5 separate regions of the Homo sapiens genome follow, and regions 2, 3, 4 and 5 are each linked to region 1. The links are contacts of gene promoters, found by promoter capture Hi-C in blood cells and fetal thymus (Javierre and others, 2016). All regions are on one chromosome and are shown on one strand. The core of a region is centred on a gene start or on the middle of the fragment in contact, and the rest is flanking DNA. Distances in the headings are between cores, read along the strand shown. Region 1 holds the start of ZNF140 (zinc finger protein 140). Region 2 has its middle 6.2 kb from the start of ZNF268. Region 3 overlaps ZNF10 (zinc finger protein 10). Region 4 overlaps ZNF26 (zinc finger protein 26). Region 5 overlaps ZNF268 (zinc finger protein 268).

Evidence for each region. The method cuts DNA at HindIII sites, captures the fragments that hold promoters and counts their contacts. A CHiCAGO score of 5 or more calls a contact.
Region 2: a fragment that was not itself captured here is called in contact with the fragment with the promoter of ZNF140 in region 1 in 13 of 17 cell types (naive CD8 T cells, erythroblasts, total B cells and 10 more); the score reaches 8.2 in naive CD8 T cells.
Region 3: a fragment that was not itself captured here is called in contact with the fragment with the promoter of ZNF140 in region 1 in 1 of 17 cell types (naive CD8 T cells); the score reaches 5.2 in naive CD8 T cells.
Region 4: a fragment that was not itself captured here is called in contact with the fragment with the promoter of ZNF140 in region 1 in 1 of 17 cell types (non-activated CD4 T cells); the score reaches 5.1 in non-activated CD4 T cells.
Region 5: a contact is called between a fragment that was not itself captured here and the fragment with the promoter of ZNF140 in region 1, in 8 of 17 cell types (naive CD8 T cells, total B cells, total CD8 T cells and 5 more). The highest score is 10.5, in naive CD8 T cells.

What each region holds. Positions count from the first base shown.
Region 1 is chr12:133,079,239-133,083,832 of GRCh38, reverse strand. It overlaps ZNF140 (zinc finger protein 140), which reads right to left and starts at 2,910. Exons shown (of 5, transcript NM_003440.4): 1 at 2,761-2,910; 2 at 2,504-2,560; 3 at 604-730; 4 at 272-367. The coding sequence starts at 2,512. RefSeq lists enhancers at 2,922-3,121, 3,192-3,881. The HindIII fragment of the contact is 18,343 bases long and covers 1-4,594 here.
Region 2 is chr12:133,173,021-133,177,555 of GRCh38, reverse strand. No RefSeq gene overlaps it. Among named protein-coding and RNA genes, the nearest start is that of ZNF268, 6.2 kb to the left of the region's middle. The HindIII fragment of the contact is 517 bases long and covers 2,455-2,971 here.
Region 3 is chr12:133,152,930-133,157,504 of GRCh38, reverse strand. It overlaps ZNF10 (zinc finger protein 10), which reads right to left. Exons shown (of 5, transcript NM_015394.5): 5 at 1-2,002. The coding sequence ends at 537. Among named protein-coding and RNA genes, the nearest start is that of ZNF10, 25 kb to the right of the region's middle. RefSeq lists an enhancer at 1,097-2,296. The HindIII fragment of the contact is 4,637 bases long and covers 1-4,411 here.
Region 4 is chr12:133,000,569-133,004,977 of GRCh38, reverse strand. The region is part of intron 1 of ZNF26 (zinc finger protein 26); the gene reads right to left. Among named protein-coding and RNA genes, the nearest start is that of ZNF26, 16 kb to the right of the region's middle. The HindIII fragment of the contact is 2,223 bases long and covers 1,880-4,102 here.
Region 5 is chr12:133,189,617-133,194,587 of GRCh38, reverse strand. ZNF268 (zinc finger protein 268) reads right to left here. Exons shown (of 6, transcript NM_003415.3): 4 at 2,973-3,099; 5 at 2,585-2,680. Among named protein-coding and RNA genes, the nearest start is that of ZNF268, 11 kb to the right of the region's middle. The HindIII fragment of the contact is 4,524 bases long and covers 1-3,743 here.

The sequences.
Region 1 (4,594 bases), core at 1,661-4,160:
ACCCGCCACCAAGCCCGGCAAATTTTTTTGTATTTTTAGCAGAGATGGGGTGTCACCGTGTTAGCCAGGATGGTCTCGATCTCCTGACGTCGTGATCCACCCACCTCGGCCTCCCAAAGTGCTGGGATTACCGGCATGAGCCACCGTGCCTAGCGTATCTCTAGTATCTTTAAGGGAAAATTTTCCAATCAACATATTAAAAAGTATTCCTTTTTCATTGACTAATTGAGTGGTTTTAAAAAATTTCCCCATCAGCTTCCAACTCACTCACCTGAAAACAGATCTCTTTTCACTTCCCTTTTCCCCAGCCAGGGTTCTTTCCCTTGCTCCAATAAGGAAACCACATCTGGCTTAGAAATGGAAAGACCTGCTTGCAGAAAATGAAATAAATTCAAGATCAGTCATTGAATCCTAAGAGGGGCCACAAAGGAAATGTCAGATGTAAGTTTTTAAAATGTCTAAAAATAAGGTGCAGTTACGTCCCCATCTTAAAACTAATTTTAAGAAACCCCATACCTCTCTTGGGAATATTCAGCCAGATAATTATAACAGCCACCCTAACGGTCAAATTTTGCCTTGAGGGAGATGAAGAAGAATACTTACCCAGTGAGACCAGATGGCCATAGTTCTCCAACATTACACATCTGTACAAATCTCTTTGAGCAGGCTGAAGCCATTTCCACTCCTCCTGGGAGAAGTCTATGGCCACATCTCTGAATGTCACTGACCCCTGAAATGACGGACAGATATTTGCATGACCAGCACGCATGCCCCCAAACTCCCTCATCAAGGAATAAAATGAGTCTCACTGTGGAGGTTAGGCAATGTGTCTAAGTAGTAACAGTGAGAGTTTTCAGAATTCTGAGTAATTATATAATGAAGAGCCTAGCTCTTGTGTTTTGTTGTATAACTGGAGAAAAGGAGAAAAACATAAATTATCTGTCCTGAGATAATTTACAATTTTATTCAAAATAAAGGATTATACACATGAACAATATGGATTTTTGGCATTGGTTGTAAAAATTCTTAAGATTTTACAGTATTCCTTTATGTTAATAAACAATGTATATTTTCCTTAATACCAGCCTATTTTAATATAATTCAGCCAGAATTTCTTCAGGGTAATAATTCGCTACAGCAGATAACAGCACCACCCTTCAAATGGGGCATACAGTCTCAAGTTTGTCACAGTTATCCCTAATCCTAAAGAAATACCTGTGAAACTTAGTGGTAATTTTAGCAATGTCACAGAACAAGGAGGATAAGCAATAAAGAATCTTGATTCCGCAAGAAGAGAATGTAATACCTCCCAGGACAGAACCTAAAGCACTTTCCCTCAGAGTTAGGGGGAATAATATATAAGCCCTTGCTTTGCAGCCTGGTTTTGCACCACTTGAGTGATCCACATTGATCTATAAGGCATGAATGGGAATTTAAAATGTCTCAAACTAGTAGCAGTCCCAGATGGATGGCAGTTATAATTTACAGTTTTGAAGTTTAATAAAAAAGTGATTAAAGACTGTTGACTAATAAAGCAGCTGTTTCCTACACAGCAAGATCTGCAGCAGAGGTGGAAATTGGATTCCCCAGCAAAACTCAGAGAACCTCTGAATTTGGAGAGAAGTATGACAAAAAGTAGGATAAAGAAGTGGAACTGAAATGAGGGACTCATTTTGAATAGTTGACCCTGTTATCCCCACTGCTGTGAAGCACAATTACCAGCCAAGCCCTTAGGCCAAATCAAAATAAAAATGTGTTCCTTATGTCATGTCTGAAAAATGAGCTCTGAGGATTCGGAGATTTTGTTTTGGTCACTTCTGCATCCTCAAGACTTAGAATGAGTTGCACATTAGAATCACTTGGAAGGACTGTTAGACTGCTGGGCCAAATTCTCAGTTTCTGATTCAGAAGGTCTGGGGTAGGACTCAAGAATATTCATTTCTAATACGTTCTCAGATGATGCTGATACTGCTGGTCCAAGGATCACACTGTGGGAACCACTGAAAGTAGAGGTTCAGTAAAAACATATTGAATAAATGAATAAAGGGGCGCTGGAGTAACGTAAAGCACTCCTCATTCTAACACTGTGGGAAAGAGGAGGCGATGTAACAGCTGGCACCCTACCCTCTCACCCTAAAACATGCCAGCCAGGTCAGAAACCCCGCCCACATCTGGATAGCTTCCTGTCACTCTCTTCATGTATACTTAAGTATAAGCACCTGAAAAGGAGGAACAAGGGACAGGGTCCTGGGGTTCTGCCAGGCAGGTGGTTGTAGGAGAAAGAAAGCCACGTCCCAAGTCCTGAAAAACACGGCTGCACTTCACAAAGAAAAGCGGAAACAGGCCAAGTGGGTTGGCTCACTTGAGGCCAAGAGTTTGAGGTTACAGGATGCTATGATCGCTCCACTGCCTGGGCGACAGGAGGAGACCCTGTCTCTCTCTTAAAAAAAAAATAAAAATTTATATATATATATATATATATATTTATCAATCATTAGCTTACCTGAGACATAGCTCACAGAAGGGAAGGAGGAGATCAGAAAAGTGTAAAATGGCAGACCTGGCAGAGAGAGAAAGGAGCCCTGAGCGAACAGGCCAGCTAGGCCGCGCCCAAGTCACTAGATTCCCGCACTGGGGATTCCCGTGGCCCCCGCTCCGCGCCTCCCACGTAGAGAGCAGGGCGCCCTGAGAGATCGCGCTTGGACCACTGGCGCCGGCTTTCTCTTCCTGCCACGGCGCGCCTCCCCAGAACCCCCTCACCTAACAGTGGCCACAGAAGGATGCGTTTCCGTGGTGCTTTCCGCCAGGTGGGCGTAGCGTTCCAGGGCTCCGGACCGAGTCACCGCCCGGGGCCATCCGGCGCAGACCGGGAGGGCTCCTTTCGTTGCCTACAGCCAACACAGGCCAGACGCTCGGCGCCGCCCCCCAGGGCCCCTCCGCGGGCGTCGCAGGAATTGCGTCTTCAGAAGCCTCGCCGACGTCACCCCAACCAGGCCGCCGGCCTCAAGAAACTACAATTCCCAGAAACCAATGCGGCCCTGCGCGCAAGGGCTTTTCGTTCCTACTGGAACTCCCAGAGCGCCTCGCTGCCGTGCCCAGAACGCCAGGAGACAAAGAACGAGGGCCTGCGACAACTACAATTCCCAGAGCCATCGCGGCCCGGTGCGCCAGAGCATAGGGGCTATCCTCCCACGCCCAGAGCCGAGAAACAAAGAACCCGGGTCCTAGGCAACTACATTTCCCAGAAATAACCGCGGCCCCCCGCGGAAGAGTACACAGACCTTTGTGTTCCTATAACTGCCAGAGTGTCTCGCGGCCAAGCGCACAACTAGCGGAGAAACGAAGAACGTGGAACTCAGGCCACCACACTTCCCAGAAACAACCGCGACCCCGCGCGAGAGAGCATATGGCTTTCCCCGCCCCACTGCAACTCCCAGGGTGCTTTGAGGCCAAGCGCACATCATCGAAAGACAAAGAACACGAGCTTCAGGCAACTACACTTCCCAGAACCTCTAGCGACCGTGCGCAAAAGAGCGGAGGACGTTCTTCCCCTACTACGACTCCCAGAGTGCATCGTGGCCACGCCCAAAGCCGGAAGACAACGCAGAGCTCTGGCGACTACATTCCCCCAAACTCCTGCGCCGCACGCCAGAGGGTATAGGGTTTTCCTCCCCTACTACGACTCCCACAGTGCTTCGCTGGCGTGCACACACGGCCCAGAGACAAGGAACTGGAGACTCAGGTGACTACACTTCCCAGAACACACCGCGGCCCAGCAAGAGCCCAAGACCGCCTCTATTAAACAACTAGGATTCTTAACAACGACTGTGGAGTCAGTACTTCAGTCTAAGACCTTTTGCTACTGGAAAGGGGTCCGGATCTCAGACTCTAAGAGAGGGTTCTTGGATCTTGCACAAGAAAGAATTTGAGGCGAATCCATAAGGTGAAAGCAAGTTTATTAGGAAAGTAAAGGAATAAAGAATGGCTAATCCATAGGCAGGGCAGCCCCGAGGGCTGCTGGTTGCGCATTTTTGTGGTTATTTCTTGATGATATGCTAAACAAGGGGTGGATTATTCATGCATCCTCTTTTTAGACCATATAGGGTAACTTCCTGACGTTGCCATAGCCACTGGTGGGCAGTGAGGACAATCAGGTCGTTCTCATCGCTATCTCGGTTTTAGTCGGCTTCTTTACTGCAACCTGTTTTATCAGCAAGGTCTTTATGACCTGTATCTTGTGCCAGCCTCATGTCTCATCCTGTGACTACGAATGCCTTAACCTCCAGGGAATGCTGCCCAGCAGGTCTCAGCCTTATTTTAACCAGCCCCTACTCAAGATAGAGTTGCCCTGGTTCAACCGCCTCTGACAGTGGAAGACGTAGCAATGAGGACAGCCAGAAGTCACTCTCATTGCCATCTTGGTTTTGGTGGGTTTTAGCCGGCTTCTTTACTGTAAACTTTTATCAGCAAGGTCTTTATGACCTGTGTCTCATGCTGACCTGCTGTCTCATACTGTGAGTTAGAATGCCTAACGGTCTTGGAACGCAGCCCAGTATGCCTCAGCCTTATTTTACCCAGTTCTTATTTAAGATGG
Region 2 (4,535 bases), core at 1,464-3,963, 94 kb before region 1:
TTCATTTATCAAATCTAATACTTTTTCAGTGGCATCTTTAGGTTTTTCTAGATATAAGATTATATCATTTGCAAACAGGGACAATTTGACTTCCTGTTTTCCAATTCAGATGCCTTTTATTTCTCTTGCCTGATTGCTCTGGCTAGAACTTGCAGTACTATGTTAAATAGCAGTAGTGTAAGTGGGCATTCTTGTCTTGTTCCAGTTCTTGGAATGTTTTCAACTTTTCTCTCATCAGTATGATGTTGGCTGTGAATTTGTCATATGTGGCCTTTACTATTTTTTAGTATGTTCCTTCTATGCCTAGTTTCTTGAGGATTTTTATCATGAAGGGATGCTGAATTTTATTAAATGTTTTCTCTGCATCTATTGAGATGATCGTGTGGGTTTTGTCCTTAATTAGGTTTATGCAGTGCATCACATTTGCTGATTTGTGTATGTTGAACCATCCCTGCATCCCTAGTATAACACTCACTTGATCATGTGTATTATCATTTTCATGTGCTGTTAAATTCAGCTTGCTAGTATATAGTTAAGGATTTTTGCATCTGTGTTCTTGAGGGATATTGGTCTATAGTTTTCTTTTTTTTGTTGTGTCCTTGGTTTAGGAATCAGGGTAACATAGGGCCTTGTAGAATGAGGTAGGAAGAATAATTCCCTCCTCCTCAATTTTTTGAAACAGCTTTAGGGGAATTGGTATTAGTTCTTTGTACATTTGGTAGAATTCGGCTGTGAATCGATTTCACCCTAGGCTTTTTTGGTGGGGGAGATATTTTATTATTGATTCAATCTTGCTCCTTATTATTGGTCTGTTCAGGGTTTTTCTTTGTTCATGTTTCAATCTTGGGAGGTTGTATTTTCCAGGAATTTATCCTTATAATCTAGGTTTTATAGTTTGTTAGTATATAATTGTTCATAATGGTCTCTAATGATCTTTTGTATTTTTGTGGTATCAGTTGTAATGTCTTCTTTTTCATTTCTGATTTTGTGTATTTGGATATTCTATCCTTTTCTTGGTTAGTCTACCTAGTAGTTGTCAGTTTTAGGGTTTTTTCCTTTCAAAGAACCAATTTTTGGTTTTATTGGTCCATTATATTGTATCCATTTTTGTCTCTATTTCATTTAGTTTTACTTTGACCTTTGTTATTTATTTTCTTCTGGTAACTCTGGGTTTGGTTTGTTCTTATTTTTCTAGTTCCTTGAGAAGTAATGTTAGGTTGTTAATTTGTAATCTTTCTGCTTTTTTGATATGGGCATTTAATGCTATCCACTTCCCTCTTAGCACTGCTTTTGCTGAATCCTATAGGTTTTGATATGTTGTATTTCCATTTTCATTTGTTTCAAAAAACTTTTAAATTATAATCTTAATTTTTTCACTGACCCAGTGATCATTCAGGAGCATATAGTTAATTTCTACATATTTGTATGGTTTCGAAAGTTCCTCTTGTTGTTGATTTCTACTTTATTCCCCTGCAGTCTGAGAAGATAATTGATATGATTTTGATTTTTAAAAATTTGTTGAGACTTGCCTTGTGGCCTAACATATGGTCTATCTTGGAGAATGTTCCATGTGCTGATGGGAAAAGTGTATATTCTGCAGTTGTTGAGTAGAATATTCCATAAATATCTGTTAGGTTTGCTTGGTTTGAAGTCCAATTTAAGTCCAATGTTTCTTTGTTGATTTTCTGTCTTGATGATGTGTCTACTGCTCTGAGTGGGTGTTGAGGTCCCCCACTACTATTGTATTGCTGTCTATCTCTTTCCTTAGAACTAGAAATATTTGTTTTAGGAATATGGGTGCTCTGGTGTTGGGTGCATATACATTTAGAATTATTATATCCTCTTGCTGATTTGATCCTGTTATCATATATTGATTTTCTTTTTCTTTTTCTTTACTGATGATTTAAAGTCTGTTTTATCTGATGTATATCTATTTCTGCTCACTTTTGGTCTCCATTTGTGTGGAATATCTTTATCCACCCCTTTTTTTTTTAGTCCATATGTGTCTTTACAGGTAAAGTGAATTTCTTGTAAGCAGCATATAGTTTTATTATCTTTTAAAATTCATTCTGCAAATCTATAGCTTTTAGGTGGAGTATTTATTCCATTTACATTCAAGGCTAATATTGATATGTGAGGTTTTGTTCTTGTCATATTGTTGTTTTCTAGTTGTGTTATAAGTTTTTTATTTCTTTCTCTTTCTCTGTCTCTTTGTGCTTTGGTGGAATTCTGTTGTGTTGCCATTTGATTTATTTGTCTTCCTCCTCTGTTTAATTATTTTATAAGACCTGTGAGTTTTATACATTCATGTATTTTTATGATGGTGAATATTAGCCTTTCATTCCCATAGTTAGGACTCTTGAGCATTTCTTATAGAACCAGTGTAGTGGTGACAAATTCCTTCAGTGTTTGCTTGTCTGGGAGGGGCTTTATTTCTACTTCATTTATGAAGCTTAATGTTGCTGGATATAAAATTCTTGGCTAAGTTTTTTTCTTTTAGCACTTTGAAAATGCCACCCCATTCTGCTCTGTCCTGTAAGGTTTCTGCTGAGAAGTTCACTGTTAGTCTGATGGGGTTTTCTTTGTAAGTGACTAGGCGCTTTTCTCTTGCTGATTTTAAAATTAGTTCCTTCTACTTTGATTTTAAGCAGTCTGAAATTGTATGCTGTGTTGAAATCTTTTTTGCAATAAATTTTCTGAGGATTGCTGGACCTCCAGTATCTGAATGTCCAAATCTCTGGTTAAACTTTGTAAGTTTTCGTCGATTATTTATTTCAATAGATTTTCTACCCTTTTTTATTTTTCTTTCCCCTCAGATGACAGTAATTCATAAGTTCAGTCACTTTATGTCGCCCTAAATGTCTTGAGGGTTTTGTTCATTCTTTTATTTATTTTTAAATTTTTGTCTGACTGGATTACTTCAGAAGAATTGTCTTCTTTCTTCTGCTTAATCTAGTCTATTGTTGAAGCTTTCAAATGTATTTTGTAATTCCTTCAATGAAATTTTCAGATCAATAATTTGTTAGGTTTTTTTTTCAAAGGTATCTTATCTTCTTGGTAAATTTCACATTTATATCCTAAACTGATTTTCTGATTTCTTTGCATAAGTTTTCAGATTTCTCTTGCATCTTATTGACCATCTTTAAAATCAATATTTTGAATACTATATCTGGCATTTCAAGACTTTCTTTTTGGTTAAGATGTATTGCTGGAGAATTATTACGTTCCTTTCAGGGTATCATAATATCTTGCTTTTTCATGTCTCCTATACCTTTACACTGATTTCTGCACATATGAAGCAATAGTTGCTTCTTTTACTTTTGAATTTACTTTTGTTGGGGGGACACTTTTTTCTTAATGATGTGACTATGATGTTGGTCGGGTAGAGCCATTTTACTTTGCTTCTAGGTATTTACAGTGGCAAAGTCTGTATTATTTCATTGGCTACAAATACCCTCGGTGTAGTGCCTTTCTCAAATGATGGTTGTAGTAGCAGCACACCAGGCAGGTGAATGGGCTCACAATCTCCTGGGAAACTGGGGTGGCATGGACAATGGGAGTAAGACTGCTCTGACAAGTTATTGTATTAGTCCGTTCTCACATTGCTATAAAGAAATACATGGCTGGGCCGGTGGCTCAAGCCTGTAATCCCAGCACTTTGGGAGGCCAAGGTGGGCAATCACGAGGTCAGGAGATCAAGACCATCCTGACTAACATTGTGAAACCCCATCTCTACTAAAGCCACAAAATATTAACCAGGCGTGGTGCCACATGCCTGTAGTCCCACCTACTTAGGAGGCTGAGGCAGGACAACTGATTGAACCTGGGAGGCAGAGGTTGCAGTGAGCCGAGATCGCGCCACTGCACTCCAGCCTGGGTGACAGAGCGAGACTCCATTTCAAAATAAATAAAGAAATAAAGTAGTACCCGAGACTGGGTAATTTATGAAGAAAAGAGGTTTGATTGGCTCACAGTTCCACAGACTGTACAGGAAGCATGATGCTAGCATCACTTAGCTTCTGGAGAAGCCTCAGGAAACTTACATTCACAGCAGAAAGTAAAAGGGGAGGTGGCATTTCACAAGGCCAGAACAAGAGCAAGGCAGAGTAAGGGGGGAGGTGCTACACACTTTTAAGTAGCCAGATATCATGGGAAACCACTTACTACCTCAAGGACAGCACCAAGGGGATGGTGTCAAGCCATTCATGAGAAATCTTCCCCCATGATCCAGTCACCTCCCACCAAGCCCCATCTCCAACATTGGGGATTACAAAGTAACACAATATTTGGTGGGGAAACAGATCTAAACCATACCAGTTATTCTCATTCCTAAGTGCTGTGCTCTTGTAGTAGGAGTTGTTTCAGTGGGCTGTGTGGGCCAGCATCCAGGCCAGTAGGTGGTACTTGTAGGTATGAGCTAGCTGCAGTAGTAGCCGTGGGATTTATGCCCAACCTCTGTTCCTTAGAAGAAGTACTTGGGTGTCCCAGGTGGTGGATTGGGCCATGAAACCCCCAGAGGCCAGGATCCCACACGC
Region 3 (4,575 bases), core at 844-3,343, 74 kb before region 1:
ACTACATTATAAGCATTTTTCTTGCTGTTAACCAAAATATGGTTTCTACCAGACACATAAAACATACCAAACACTACTAAATGTCCCAGAAGAGAGACATAGTCAAGAAAACAATGACATATTGACTGAAATATTATTTTCCATCTTTTGTTGCATTAACTGTATCATTTCTTAATTCTCAGCAACAACTCTCCCTATAGTAGCATACTCATTTCTTTTCAAATGAAGGGGTTCTCGCTCAACAACTCACCTATTTAATAATTCCTTCTCAGATTCTAGCATTTAAGACTTGGTCAAGAATGCTCTCAGGCCAATTACTTCTGTAGGAATTCATGAAAAGAAGAAAATCTGATGGATTTGTGTACTGAAATAAAATCTGTGGTTTCTTTCCCTTCCAGGACCAATTCTCTAATGTGCAATAGGATAGTAACAAGACTGAAAGCATTTCCACATAGATTCAATTTGTACAGCTTATCTCCAGGAGTTCTCCAATGCAAAATAAAGTCATTGCTCTTTGTGAAAAATTCCCATATTTATTAGTAAGCATTTTCTCTAATATGATTTGTCTGGTATCCAATAAGGTTAGAGGTATTAACAAGCGCTGTCCCACATTGATTGCATGTTAAGAACTGCTCTCCAGTGTGAGCTATTTGATGAACTATAAATGGAGAGTTCTGGCTGAAGATAATGCCACATTGATTACATTTATAGGTCTCTTCTCCAACATGAATTCTCTGGTGCTTAATGAGGTCATTCTTCCGGATGAAGGCTTTCCCACACTGACAGCATTCATATGGTTTCTCTCCAGTGTGTATCCTCTGATGCACAATAAGGGCAGAACTCTGGCTGAAAGATTTTCCACAATCATGACACTCATATGGTTTCTCTCCAGTGTGGGTTCTTTGATGTGAATAAAGGTGAGAGCTTCGACTAAAACATTTTCCACAATCCTTACACTCAAAAGGTTTTAGTCCAGTGTGAATTCTATGATGCACAACAAGGTGAGATCTCTGGCTGTAAGACTTTCCACATTCATTGCATTCATAGGGCCTCACTCTCACATGGGTTCTCTGATGCAGAATGAGATGTGTGCTCTGTCTGAAAGATTTCCCACATTCAGGACATTCATAGGGTTTCTCTCCAGTATGTGTCCTCTGGTGTCTAATAAGCCTAGAGCTATGAACAAAAGATTTCCCACACTGATTACATGTGTACAGTTTGTCTCCTGTATGAGTTCTCTGATGAGTAACAAGGTGAGAGAACCAGCTGAAGGATTTTCCACATTCTTTACATTCATAGGGTTCCTCACCAGTATGGGTCTTTTGATGTCCAATGAGGTGAGAACTCCGGCTGAAAGACTTTCCACATTCTTTACACTCATAGGGTTTTTCTCCAGTATGAATAAGCTGATGCCTAGTAAGATTAGAGCGCCAGCTGAAGAATTTTCCACATTCCTTACATTCATAGGGTTTCTCTCTATGTATGCCCTTTGATATACCAAGAGATGAACCATGAGTAAGAGAGTTGTCATTATCAGGGCATTTGTAGGATTTATCACCTGTGTGAGTTCTTGCAAACTGAATAAGGTGAATGTTTTGACAGAAAGTTTGACCACATTCATTACTGTTACTTGCACAACTGTCCTGATGACCATTAAGAACTAAATCATGTTTTAAACTTTTAGTATGTGAGTCACGTTTATGGAAATACTCTCTCAGTACTAGCTGAGCAGGAAGAAGACAGTTTCCCCCATATTTACCACTTTCAGAGACTCTCTCCTGAGTAAGTACTTTCTTTTGGGTGAATGCCACTTGCCTCAAATGTCTCTCTGGGTTTTCCTGATACTTGTCTAACTGGTCTCTACATTTCCAGACTTCTTCTAATGACAAATACCAGAGATCATTCCTTGCCATTCCTTCCATTTTAATGTCACAGGATTGCTTATCTTTAAAAATGCTCCTGCTGGAAACTGATGATTTGATTTCAAATGCAGTCTCTGAATCTGAAAGAAATGAAAAATGTTTGTGTAACTAAACAGAGTATTAAGGTGAGAATGCTAGGATGTATGTGGAGACAAAGTATGCAAGATGTACACAGTTGCTTTCAAATATGGCTTTATAACTTTGATAGAGAATGAGAAAAGGAAGAATGGAGCGGTAAACAATAAATGCATTGTGGTATACAGTACTCACAAAGGGCAAAAGGAGTAAGGAGAAGCCACAGGACACAGCATGACACATGGGATCAGGGTATCAATGGTGAGGGTAGAAATAAGGGAAATTCCATAAAAAGGACTGCACTCTCATTTTCTAATCCAGATATTAACAGTCTAAGTTCCTCACCTGTCTACTTGTTGTCAGGACTTTCCCCTGACACACATTCTTCACATTACTATCAATTTAGTATTCTCTCTCTTTTTTTTTTTTTTGAGACAGTTTCGCTCTTGTTGTCCAGGCTGGAGTGCAATGACACAATCTTGGCTCAATGCAACCTCCGCCTCCCAGGTTCAAATGATTCTCCTGCCTCAGCCTCCCAAGTAGCTGGGATTACAGGCACCTGCCACCATGCCTGGTTAATTTTTAATATTTTTAGCAGAGACAGGGTTTCACTATGTTGGCCAGGCTGGTCTTGAACTCCTGACTTCAGGTGATCCACCCGCCTTAGCCTCCCAAAGTGCTGGGATTATAGGCGTGAGCCAGTGCGTCCGGCCCAATTTAGTATTCTTAAACCATGAATGCAGCCATACGTCAGGCAATGCTTTCTATCCAAATCACAGAAGCACTATAGAATAACACCCAGATGAGTGACACAACAGACCTCTCAGAGCAGCTACATGACAAGGTGGAAGAGTAACTGCACAAAAGTTACCAAGATGCAAGTTCTAAGTTTTATATTACGACTAGTGGTGAATTTAGACGAGTTGCTAAACTTTGAAGAATTCATTTTGCTTATCTGTAATCTAAGGATGACAGTATTTGTTATTTAAGATTATTATATTATATAAAGCATGAGCCTATTACAGTCTCTGGCACATTTATGGTCAAAGCAATAAGATTTACAATAATCATCATCATTCTTCTCATTTTTTTGATTTCTTCGCTCTGAAACATAAGGACTTAACAACTGATAGGACTACTACCACAAGATGTGAACTTAGAATCTGAAGCCTGACCCATACGCTCTTAGAATTTCTGCCATCTGCTACCTGTGTATATTACTGCAAATTATTTCTCTTGAATAAGAGCTTTATCTGTTTCTCAATGTCTTTCAGGTAAAACATATAATCCCAAACCTAAAAAATACACTGATGATACCACTTCATCTTACATAAGTGGGGTGACATTCCACTCTTACCTGGTATTATGGGTTAAACTGTATCCCCCCCGCCGACAAAAAGGTATGTTGAAGTTTTAATCCTCAGTATCTCAGAATATGACCATATTTGGAAATACAGTCTTTCCAGATGTAATTAGTTATGATGAGGTAGTACCAGAAATAGGATGGGCCCCTAATCCAGTATGAGGGTGGTCCTCCATAAAAAAGACACAGACACAGGGGAAGAGACCATGTGAACATGGAGACCAAGACTGGAATGATATATCCACAAGCCAAGGAACACCTGGGGCCAGCAGAGCCTGGAAGAGATAAGGAAAGACCCTCTCCTAGAAGCGTAGCAGAGCCCCACTGACATCTTCATTTTAGACTTAACAGCCTCCAGCTGTGACATGATACATTTTGGTTGTTTTGAGCCACCTAACTGCTGGTTCTTTGTTACCGCAGCCCCAGGAAACTAATACACCTGGTAAATGATCCCTGTGCCAGGCCTGGTCCCTAAATGACTTCCTTATACAATCCCACCCCGACCAGTCCTGTCCCTTACCACTTAGTTAGTTCCTAGTTTCTTCCCCATCCTGATGATTTTTAATAGGAAATACACCACCCTTTCCTCCCTTTCCCCAACCCAGAACATCAGAAAATCTTATGGAGAAGTTTTTCAACCTACAAATGCCAACTGGAAGATTCTATGAAGAATATCTATGATAAGGGGGGTGCTGAGCACTTATGGAGGACAATTCTGAGTGGAGAGTTTGGTCATAAGAATGAGGTGTTTTATTAATATCCTAAAATCTTCCACATATTATGTAATACAACCATGCCAGTAAGTTATTGTCGAAGTCTGTTGGACCCATCAATCAACTAATCATCTGATTTTTAAAAATCATCATTCATTATATTTTTTGATTTGATAATGAATTTAACAGCCTTGTAGATTCTGTAAAACTCCATGCCTTTAAGCCCATGAAGTCTGAGTATTTCTTTTGACAATAAATTCTCAATAAAAATATAAACTGCTGGGTCCAGTTAATAATTGTTATTTTTGGATACTTGTCAACAGACATTCAGGAAAGCTTACTAGATGAACAAAATAGAAAAGAAAGAAAGAAGGTAAGTAATAAAAAGAAAATATAACAATATTTCCTCCCATGGTCCCAAAGAAAGACTTGCTTTGAGATACCATTTTGATACAATCACCTACAAGGCAAATACTAAAAAGTAAAAAAGAGCTTATGATAA
Region 4 (4,409 bases), core at 1,742-4,241, 79 kb after region 1:
AAAATAAAGTATAAAGAGAACACCTGATAACCAACTAAAAGGAAAGAACAATGCTTCTTGAAAGTGGGAGAGAAATAAAGTACTGAGAAAAAATAATGCTGATTCTGAAATCTTATACCAGCCAAACTAAAAAGCAAAAATAAGGGAAAATAAAAGACATTTTCAAATATACTAGCACCTGGAAAATTTATATCCATCAAATGTGGTACCTCATGCCTATAATCCCAGCATTTGGGAGGCTGAGGCGGGAGGATCACTTGAGGCCAAGAGTTTCAGACTATCCTGGGTCACATAGTTAGACCTCATCTCTACAAATAACAAAAAAATGTGTGGGCATAGTGGTGCACGCCTGTAGTCCCAGTTACTCAGGAGGCTGAGGTGGAAGGATGGTTTGAGCACAGGAGTTTGAGGCTGTAGTTGGCCATGACTATGCCACTGCACTTTACACTGGGCAACAGAACCAGACTCTGTCTCTAAAAAAAAAAAATTACACCCTATAGAGACAACATTAAGACACAGAAAGAATTGGTGGGAAGCTGGATACAACGGTGAGCACTGAAATCAGCAGAACATAAATCTATTGATTCAAACACATCTGAACTAAAATTATAATCAGCTACAATTTAAGCATGTGTGTGATGCAAATAGATGAGAATCATAAAAAATGAAGGTATAAAGAAACATCTTTCACTTGGGAAAAGAGAAAATGCAACTGTTTAGACTTTGTTTTAAAGGGAAACGTTCAGTGTGCCTGTGAACAACTTAAAGACAATCAAGCACTAAAAATGTAGGGAGGGAGCAGGGAGGAAGACAAGTACAGCTTCCCAAACAGTAGAGAAAAAACCGACTGAGAAAGAACACATTCATGTTAGAAGAAACATACTGAAAACAAAACTAAGACAGTTTGAAACTTATGAGATACACCAAAGAAAAAATACAAATTAGAAAATAAAGAAATGAAGAAAGATATCAGGTAAATGCTACATCAATGAAAGCTGATACTCACAGAATTAGCATAAATAATTGCATTTTTACATCAGTTTAACTCAAGGGACTTAAACTAAAGGCATTTCTTATTTATACATCCCAAGTAGCATGACGGTCTCACTACAGCCAACAGACTCCTCTTGCCCAGGCACCTCCACGTGGTTCACCATCCCTCCTGGCTCATCAATACTCGGGCATTATTCTTCTATGCTAGATGGCTTTTCTATAATATATAATTTCACAAATCAAAACACCTACAAAGTTGTAAGATTTATGCCCATTAGGGAGGTTGAGATGGAGACTAAACATGATTTGAAAGTAGGAACAGAGAGAATGGAGAGAAGATTTAAACATGATTATCAGTATCCTCCTCTGAGACCCATTTAAATTACATACAGGAATACAGTACACACAAACACACCTCTAAAAGAAAAGGGAGGCCAGGGGCGGTGGCTCATGCCTGTAATCCCAGCACTTTGGGAGGCCGAGGCGGCGGATCACAAGGTCACGAGATCGAGACCATCCTGGCTAACACGGTGAAACCCCGTCTCTACTAAAAATGCAAAAAATTAGCCAGGCGTGGTGGCGGGTGCCTGTAGTCCCAGCTACTCGGGAGGCTGAGGCAGGAGAATGGCGTTAACCCAGGAGGCAGAGCTTGCAGTGTGCCGAGATTGCGCCACTGCACTCCAGCTGGGCAACAGAGCGAGACTCCATCTCAAAAAAAAAAAAAAAAGAAAAGGGAACTACATAAACAGAAGCCAATATGATATTTTGATAAATTTTTAATAAACAGTAAGCCAAAAATCTGGTAACTGACTTCCGTGAGCAAAAGCTCTCCCAGAGGTAAGCTGATGCACAGCAAACCATCTCTCCCACAGAAGCCCCAAAAGCTTTGGGAACAGTCATCCTGCATGATGAGAATGAGGTGTGAACTGTAAACAGCTAAAAGCAGTATATGAATTAGGCTCCCAGGTCCCACCCACCTAGGGTCTCCAGGGTGGGTGTTACTCAGCCAACACATGACTACCTAACATGCCAGGGGTGCTAGGTACTCTTAACAAAATCCAGGCTGGGCATGGTGATTCACACCTGTAATCCCAGCACTTTGGGAGGCCAAGGCGGGTGGATCACCTGAGGTCAGGAGTTCGAGACCAGCCTGGCCAATATGGTGAGACTCTGTCTCTATTAAAAACACAAAAATTAGCCAGGCATGCTGGTGTACACCTGCAACCCCAGCTACTCAGGAGGCTGAGACAGGAGAATCGCTTGAACCCATGAGGTGGAGGTTGCAGTGAGTAGAAATCGCACCACTGCACTCCAGCCTGGGCGACACAGAAGACTACATCTCAAAACAAAAAAACAAAAAACAAACAAAAAATCCAAGCAGGTAAGGGACAGAGTCATGAGACAGAGGGAGGCACAGGTGCTGTTTCAGACACGGTGATCAGGGCAGCTCTCTGATGAGGTTATACCTAGGCAGAAATGCAAGCGCTGTGAGAAGCCACTGAAAGGCTTCTCGCTCTGACTGGTATTTTGAGATCATCCTGACTGCTGTGGAAGAGGGAGGGGGTTGTGTAAGAGGAGATACCGGGGAGACCAGTTAGAAGGCAACTGTGTTAGTCCAGTGGAAGAAGGCAGTGTAGGCCAAAGTGACAGCGATGGGGATGATAAATGGTGGCTGGATTCTGGGCATCCTGTGGGGACAGAGCCAGAACACAACCTGATAGAGACAGCATGGCACGCTGAGAGACAGAAGGGGGGCCAGGAGGACACCAAGCAGCCTGGCCAAGCAAACTACAGAACTTTCCCTTTAAGGAGGTGGAGAAGCCTGGGGATAACAAACGGAGAAAGAAGATAGTGAATAACTGGTCCATGAATGACGGAAGATGGGGGAGATCCAACCAGAAAACAGTCCACAGAAGTGAGTCACTGAAGGAGAAAAGTGACCTTGCTAAGAACACGTGAGAAGAAAGGGAAGCGGGTATCCATCCTCTCAAACAGGAGGGGCTCTAAGAAAAGGGGACTGTGCAAGTGCCCCACACACAACCTGGACATCTGCAACAGCCGACCAGGCTAAATCTGGGTAATTTTCAGAAGGAACTGACATGTACTTAAGAATTTAAGTAAACAAGGATCGAATAACTGCTTTCCTCTGAAAAATTCTGAAGGCAAAGACTGCCGCGGGACTCTCAAAAGGCAGCTGGGGAGTGAGGGTTCAGCAGCTCACCTCAAACAGGGCCCCGCCTCCCTGCGGCTCACCTCAGGCAGGGCACTGTTTCCCTGGGCCCAAGGAACACCCAGAAGATTCCCGAACTTGACACTTGAGCTCATTAGCAGGCTCCTCCTCAGCAGCACTACCTGCAGGGAGGGAGACCCCAGGGGAAGAGGCAGTGAGTGGACTTCTGGGTGAGTCTGCATGCAGTGAGAGAAAGAATCACATACACCATGGAACTGCAGGGCAGAGCCCTGTCAGAGGCTCCAACCAAGCCCCACTGATGCCTGTCATAACTCTGGGTACTGACCACCGCACAACAGGAGACTCTGTGTCTTTTTCTCTAACCACTGATTTTCCCACCCCAACCCAGAAGGAGCCCCCGTCGGAGGGCAACAAGTAAATGAAGTGGGAATACAGACAAGCCTCCTCCATCTCCCCTCTGCAGGCTAGAATGAGGGGAGGTACAAGAGCTTGGAGTGAGAGTGTGGACTGAACTTTCCCATACCTGAAAGTAACTGAGAGTCAATAACAAACAAGGCTGTGACCAGAGCATCATCAGCTCTCCTCACGACGAGCACTAGGGAAGGGCTGACAGGAAGCCTGAGGCTGTGATGAGAAAAATGAAGCCACTACTGTGCCCTTATTACGTTGAGGTGCTTATCAAGCTGGTTACTTTAAATCTGAGGGAGAAGAAACATGAAACAAGTCACTTCGATGTGACCATATTAGAAGCTGGAGGTCGACAGCAGAAGACGAAACGGAGCCCAAAGTGGCTGCTTCTGGGGACACAGGATGGAAGAGGGAAGGTGCACAGCAGATAGCAGGTAGACCAGGAGCAGCGGGTAGACCAGGAGGCTTATTGTCTATTTTATTTAAAGCCTTTTACTATTTCTTTAAGCTTGATACGAATGAAAACAGGCCAGGCATGGTAGTTCACGCCTGTAATCCCAGCACTTTGGGAGGCAGAGGTGGGTGGATCACCTGCAATCAGGAGTTCAAGACCAGCCTGGCCAACATAGTGAAACCCTATCCTACTAAAAATACAAAAATTAGGCCGGGCACAGTGGCTCACACCTGTAATCCTAGCACTTTGGGAGGCCAAGGTGGGCGGATCACGAGGTCAGGAGATCGAGACCATCCTGGCTAACATGGTGAAACCCTGTCTCTACAGAAAATACAAAAAATTAGCTGGGTGTGGTGGCGGGCG
Region 5 (4,971 bases), core at 232-2,731, 110 kb before region 1:
TTGAACATGATCAGTCTGCTTGGGACTTCCTGGGATGAGTTTTCCTGTCTGACAGACTCGTGTGTGAAGAAACAGCCCTTTTTATTTCATTGGCCACTGGTATATCCACAGGCATCAACTAGAACTGCAAGAGCCATCTGAGGGCCATTAAAGAAGGTAACCTAAGGAAAATGTCAACATACCTAGATGGGCCCTTGGCGATTGAGTGAGTCAATCACTTAGTTGATCCTGGAGCTGCCCCACTTCAGGACCTTTTGTGATGTGTAATAATAAATCACTTCTGCTTAAATTAGTTGGTCTGGGATTGACCAACAACTGCAGCTGAAACAATCCTAGTAATGCAAGGACTAACTGTTGATTTATGCTGTCATGCTAGTGATAGAATAAATGGGGTATTCAGGGAAATATATCTGACAGTAACATCGAAGATGAATTAATATAAAAAGAGTACAATGAATAAATTTAGCTAAATACAACAATCCAGACATGACAATACTGGCCTCGTTTTGAGTGGGAATTGAGACGATGAGGGTTTTAAAAGACCTCTTTTTAAAGGAACAAAATGCTAACAACACTGTACCAAAATTAGTAAGGGAGCCCTGCACAGAAAGGAAATTCAAGCTGACTTCCCCAGTGTTAGGAAAAAAAACTTAGAATTTAAAAAACAGGATAAACAAAGAGAAGAAAGATGAAAAGAAGGTGGTATGTAGGTGGAGCAGTGGGAGAGACGATTCCAGTTTCTGAAAACGAGGCCAGGGAGTGGTATGAGGGAGATGCCAGTGAATCAATCAAAACCAGGACCAAAGGGCAGATAAAAGATCAGTATGGCTATCAATTACCAGTAGAGGAAAAGAGCTTCAATCTTCCGAATGGAAGTTATTAAGGTTTGAATGTGTCCCCTCTAAAACTCATGTTGAAACTTACTCCCCATTGTGGTGGTATTAAGAGAAGATTAAGTTGTGCCCTCATGAATGGATTAGTCGTTTCTAAAAGGGCTTGAGGGAATGATCTTAGGCCTTTTTTGCCCCTCTTTCTGTCCCACAGTGTTCCTCACCTCCAGAGGATGCAGCAACAAGGCGTCATCTTGGAAGCACAGAGCAGGCCCTCACCAGACACCAAACCTGCCAGCACCTTGGCTTTGGACTTTCCAGCCTTCAAAACTGTGAGAAATAAATTTCTGTGCTTTATAAAATTACCTAGTCTATAGTATTTTATTACAGCAACACAAATAGACTGAGACAGAAGTCTTCTTTTTTTGAGATGAGATCTCACTATCACCCAGGCCAGAGTCTAGTGGCACAACCATAGTTCACTGCAGCATCAAATTCATGGGCTCAAGCAATCCTCCCACCTCAGCCTCCCAAGGAGCTGGGACAACAGGTGCACACCACCATGCTCAGCTAATGCGTAAGTCTTTTAAAAGTTACACTATATGAGGGAAATGAAGAATAAAGACCCCTTGGATTCAGAAGAGCAAGAGAAGCCCAGTGGAACATGAAGGGAAAAAGTGCTCGGTCATGCAGCAGAAGAGCAGGATCAACAGGTGTCACTGCAGGATCATGGACACTATCACATGACAAAGGAATGTGCTCAGAAGGTATAGAGTGATAATGTTAAAGCCATTAGCAAGGCCAGGCATGGTGCCTGACACCTGTAATCCTAGCACTTTGGGAGGCCGAGGTGGGCGGATCACAAAGTCAGGAGATCGAGACCATCCTGTCTAATGTGGTGAAACCCTGTATCTACAAAAAATACAAGAAATTAGCCGGGCGTGGTGGCAGGTGCCTGTAGTCCCAGCTACTTGGAAGGCTGAAGCAGGAGACCCGGGAGGCAGAGCTTGCAGTGAGCCGAGATTGCACCCCTGCACTCCAGCCTGGGCGACAGAATGAGACTCCGTCTCAAAAAAAAAAATCCATTAGCATAGAGAAGCACAAAAGGGGTAGAATCTACTAACAGGTTTCAAAAAGAAGGAAGATGGGACTGTGGTTGTTGAATTTATGTGTAAGGGATTTAAATGTAATTTTCAAAATGTAGAAAGGAAAGGGAAGGATCATGAGAGTCACATCAAGTGAAGGAAAGAGGAAAGGCTTGCTAAAATGCACAATGAAATGAGTCTATCACCAAGATAGAGTAAGGAGGGAAATAAGGGTGCCAACGAGAAGATTAAGAGTGGATGGTAAGGCCGGGCACGCTGGCTCACGCCTGTAATCCCAGCACTTTAGGAGACTAAGGCAGGCGGATCACCTGAGGTCAGGAGTTCGAGACTAGACTGGCCAACACGGCAAAACCCCATCTCTACTAAAAATACAAAAATTGGCCGGGCATGGTGGCGCACAACTGTAACCCCAGCTACTCAGGAGGCTGACACGGAAGAATTGCTTGAACCCAGGAGGCAGAGGATGCAGCGAGCCGAGATCACGCCACTGCACCCCAGCCTGGGCAACAAAGTGAAACTCTGTCTCAAAAAAAAAAAAAAAAAAGTGCATGGTAATACACGAGGCAAAGTACAAACAAGAGGAGCACATCACATTGGAATTCATGCTAATTCTAAATAAAGAAGAAAAGATTTGTCTCCATCACTCACTTGGACAGGTCTGATTTGGAACTTGGGCCTGCACCATACACAGCTCTTCTCCTTGTTCCAACTTGAAGATGATATCAGGTTTGGTGTGTTGGTACCCTATAAATAGAAAAATCACAGACAACCTGGAACAAACAGCTTGAGATTCAGAGATTCTGAAGAACGGGAAAGATTTGGTTTGGAGGTAGCATGATGAAGCTGCCTTTTTGCAATTTGGCAAAGTAAAGACCATTCAACTGGCATACTCTGCTGCCAATAGGGAACTAAGAAAATCTGGCCTTAAAATCTAAGTCCAAAATCACTAAGTATTTCATAGAAGCCCTCCAGTTTTCAGCAACCAAGAAGAAGCCTGGAGATCGAGCACACTCCTCCTCAGGGAGGCAGCACTTACCTAGGGACACCAGGTTGCTATAGTTCTCCAACATCACACTCCTGTACAGGCACTTCTGTGCTGGGTCTAGCAGCTGCCACTCCTCCCAGGTAAAATCCACAAACACATCCATGAATGACAAAGGTCCCTGAAATACAATATGCTCATCCAATTTCAAGTTATTTTACTAGGTTTGTGGAAAACTAGCTGTTTAGGGTGTCCATTATTTATGTTTAACTTTGTGAGAACAAAAATTGTATTGAAAACATCCATCAATGTGCATTAAATCAGTCATCTTTCTTTCTTTTTTTTTTTTTGTTGAGACAGAGTCTCACTCTGCTGCCCAGGATGGAGTGCAGTGGTGTGATCTTGGCTCACTGCAAGGTATACCTCCTGGGTTCACGCCATTCTCCTGCCTCAGCCTCCCGAGTAGCTGGGACTACAGGCACCCACCACCAAGTCCGGCTGATTTTTTTGTATTTTTAGTAGAGACGGGGTTTCACTGTGTTAGCCAGGATGGTCTCGATCTCCTGACTTTGTGATCTGCCCATCTCGGCCTCCCAAAGTGCTAGGATTACAGGCGTGAGCCACCGCGCCCGGCCTCTTTACAGTTTTAAGCTATCCTAGAAACCACCTATACAAGAGTGCTCAGATATGGGACCTTCAGTACTAAAGGCAGGACAGTCAGGCAAACAAGTTCGACTGATCACTCCTACATCTGCAATACAGTTACCAACCTCTATGTCCAGGAATATAAACATAAATGAAATACAGTCCTGCCACCAAGAAGCTTTTAGCACTGCAGAATGAAGAACAGTTACATATGCAAATGCAACTGAAAGTCAAAGAAGCTAAGAAAAAAGAACACAGATTACAACGTAGGCACAAAGGAAGAAGGAAGCAATGCTATTTGACAGTGTCAGGTGAAATCTGTGAAAGGGCACTATTGGTACCCAGAAGAGAAGACACATTAAAACTTTATGGACTAAAAAGGTAACTGCTGTAAGTAGCAGCCACTCTGTGGGATAAAGACCTAAACATGAAAATATACAGATGGTAAATGAGCATACAAAGCATGCTCAATACCATATGTCATTAGGGAATTGCAAATCCAGACAAAAGTAAGACACCACTACACACCTATTAGAATGGATAAAATCCAAAAAACTGACCACCAAATGCTGGAGAGGATGTGGAGCAATAGGAACTCTTATTCATTGCTGGTGGGAATGAAAAGTGGTAGAGTCACTTTGGAAGCCAGTTTGGCAACTTCTTACAAATCTAAACAGTCTTACCATATAATCCAGCAACTATGCCCCAGGTATTTATACAAATGAAAACTTACGTCAAAGCAAAAATAGAAGACACACATGACAAGCATCAGATATGAAAAGAAGTTATCATTACTGAATTCACAGACAAGAAAAGACTAACTGCTCTGCGCACATAAATTTGGTTAAGTTAGTTGAAAAGGACATATTCCTTGGAAGACGCAAATTACCAAACTTACTCAAAAACAGATAAACTTGGGCCAGGCGCCATGGCTCACGCCTGTAACCCTAGCACTTTGGGAGGCCGAGGCGGGCAGATCACAAAGTCAGGAGAACGAGACCATCCTGGCTAACATGGTGAAACTTCGTCTCTACTAAAAATACAAAAAAATTAGCCGGGCATGGTGGCACATGCCTGTAGTCCTAGCTGCTCAGGAGGCTGAGGCAGGAGACTCACTTGAACCCAGGAAGCAGAGGTTACAGTGAGCCGAGGTCGTGCCACTGTGCTCCAGCCTAGGCGACAGAGCGAGACTCCGTCTCAAAAAAACAAACAAACAGATAAGCTTAATTATTACATATCTATTAAAGAAATAAAATTTGTAGTTAACAGCATACAGATTGGAAAGAAACAAAACTGTCCTTTTTTACAGAGAGAGTAAGGAAACTGAGGATGCCAACGAAAAGATGAAGATGACACGACTGTTTATGAAGAAAATACCAAAAAACCTAAGAAAGTTCCTAGAACTAAC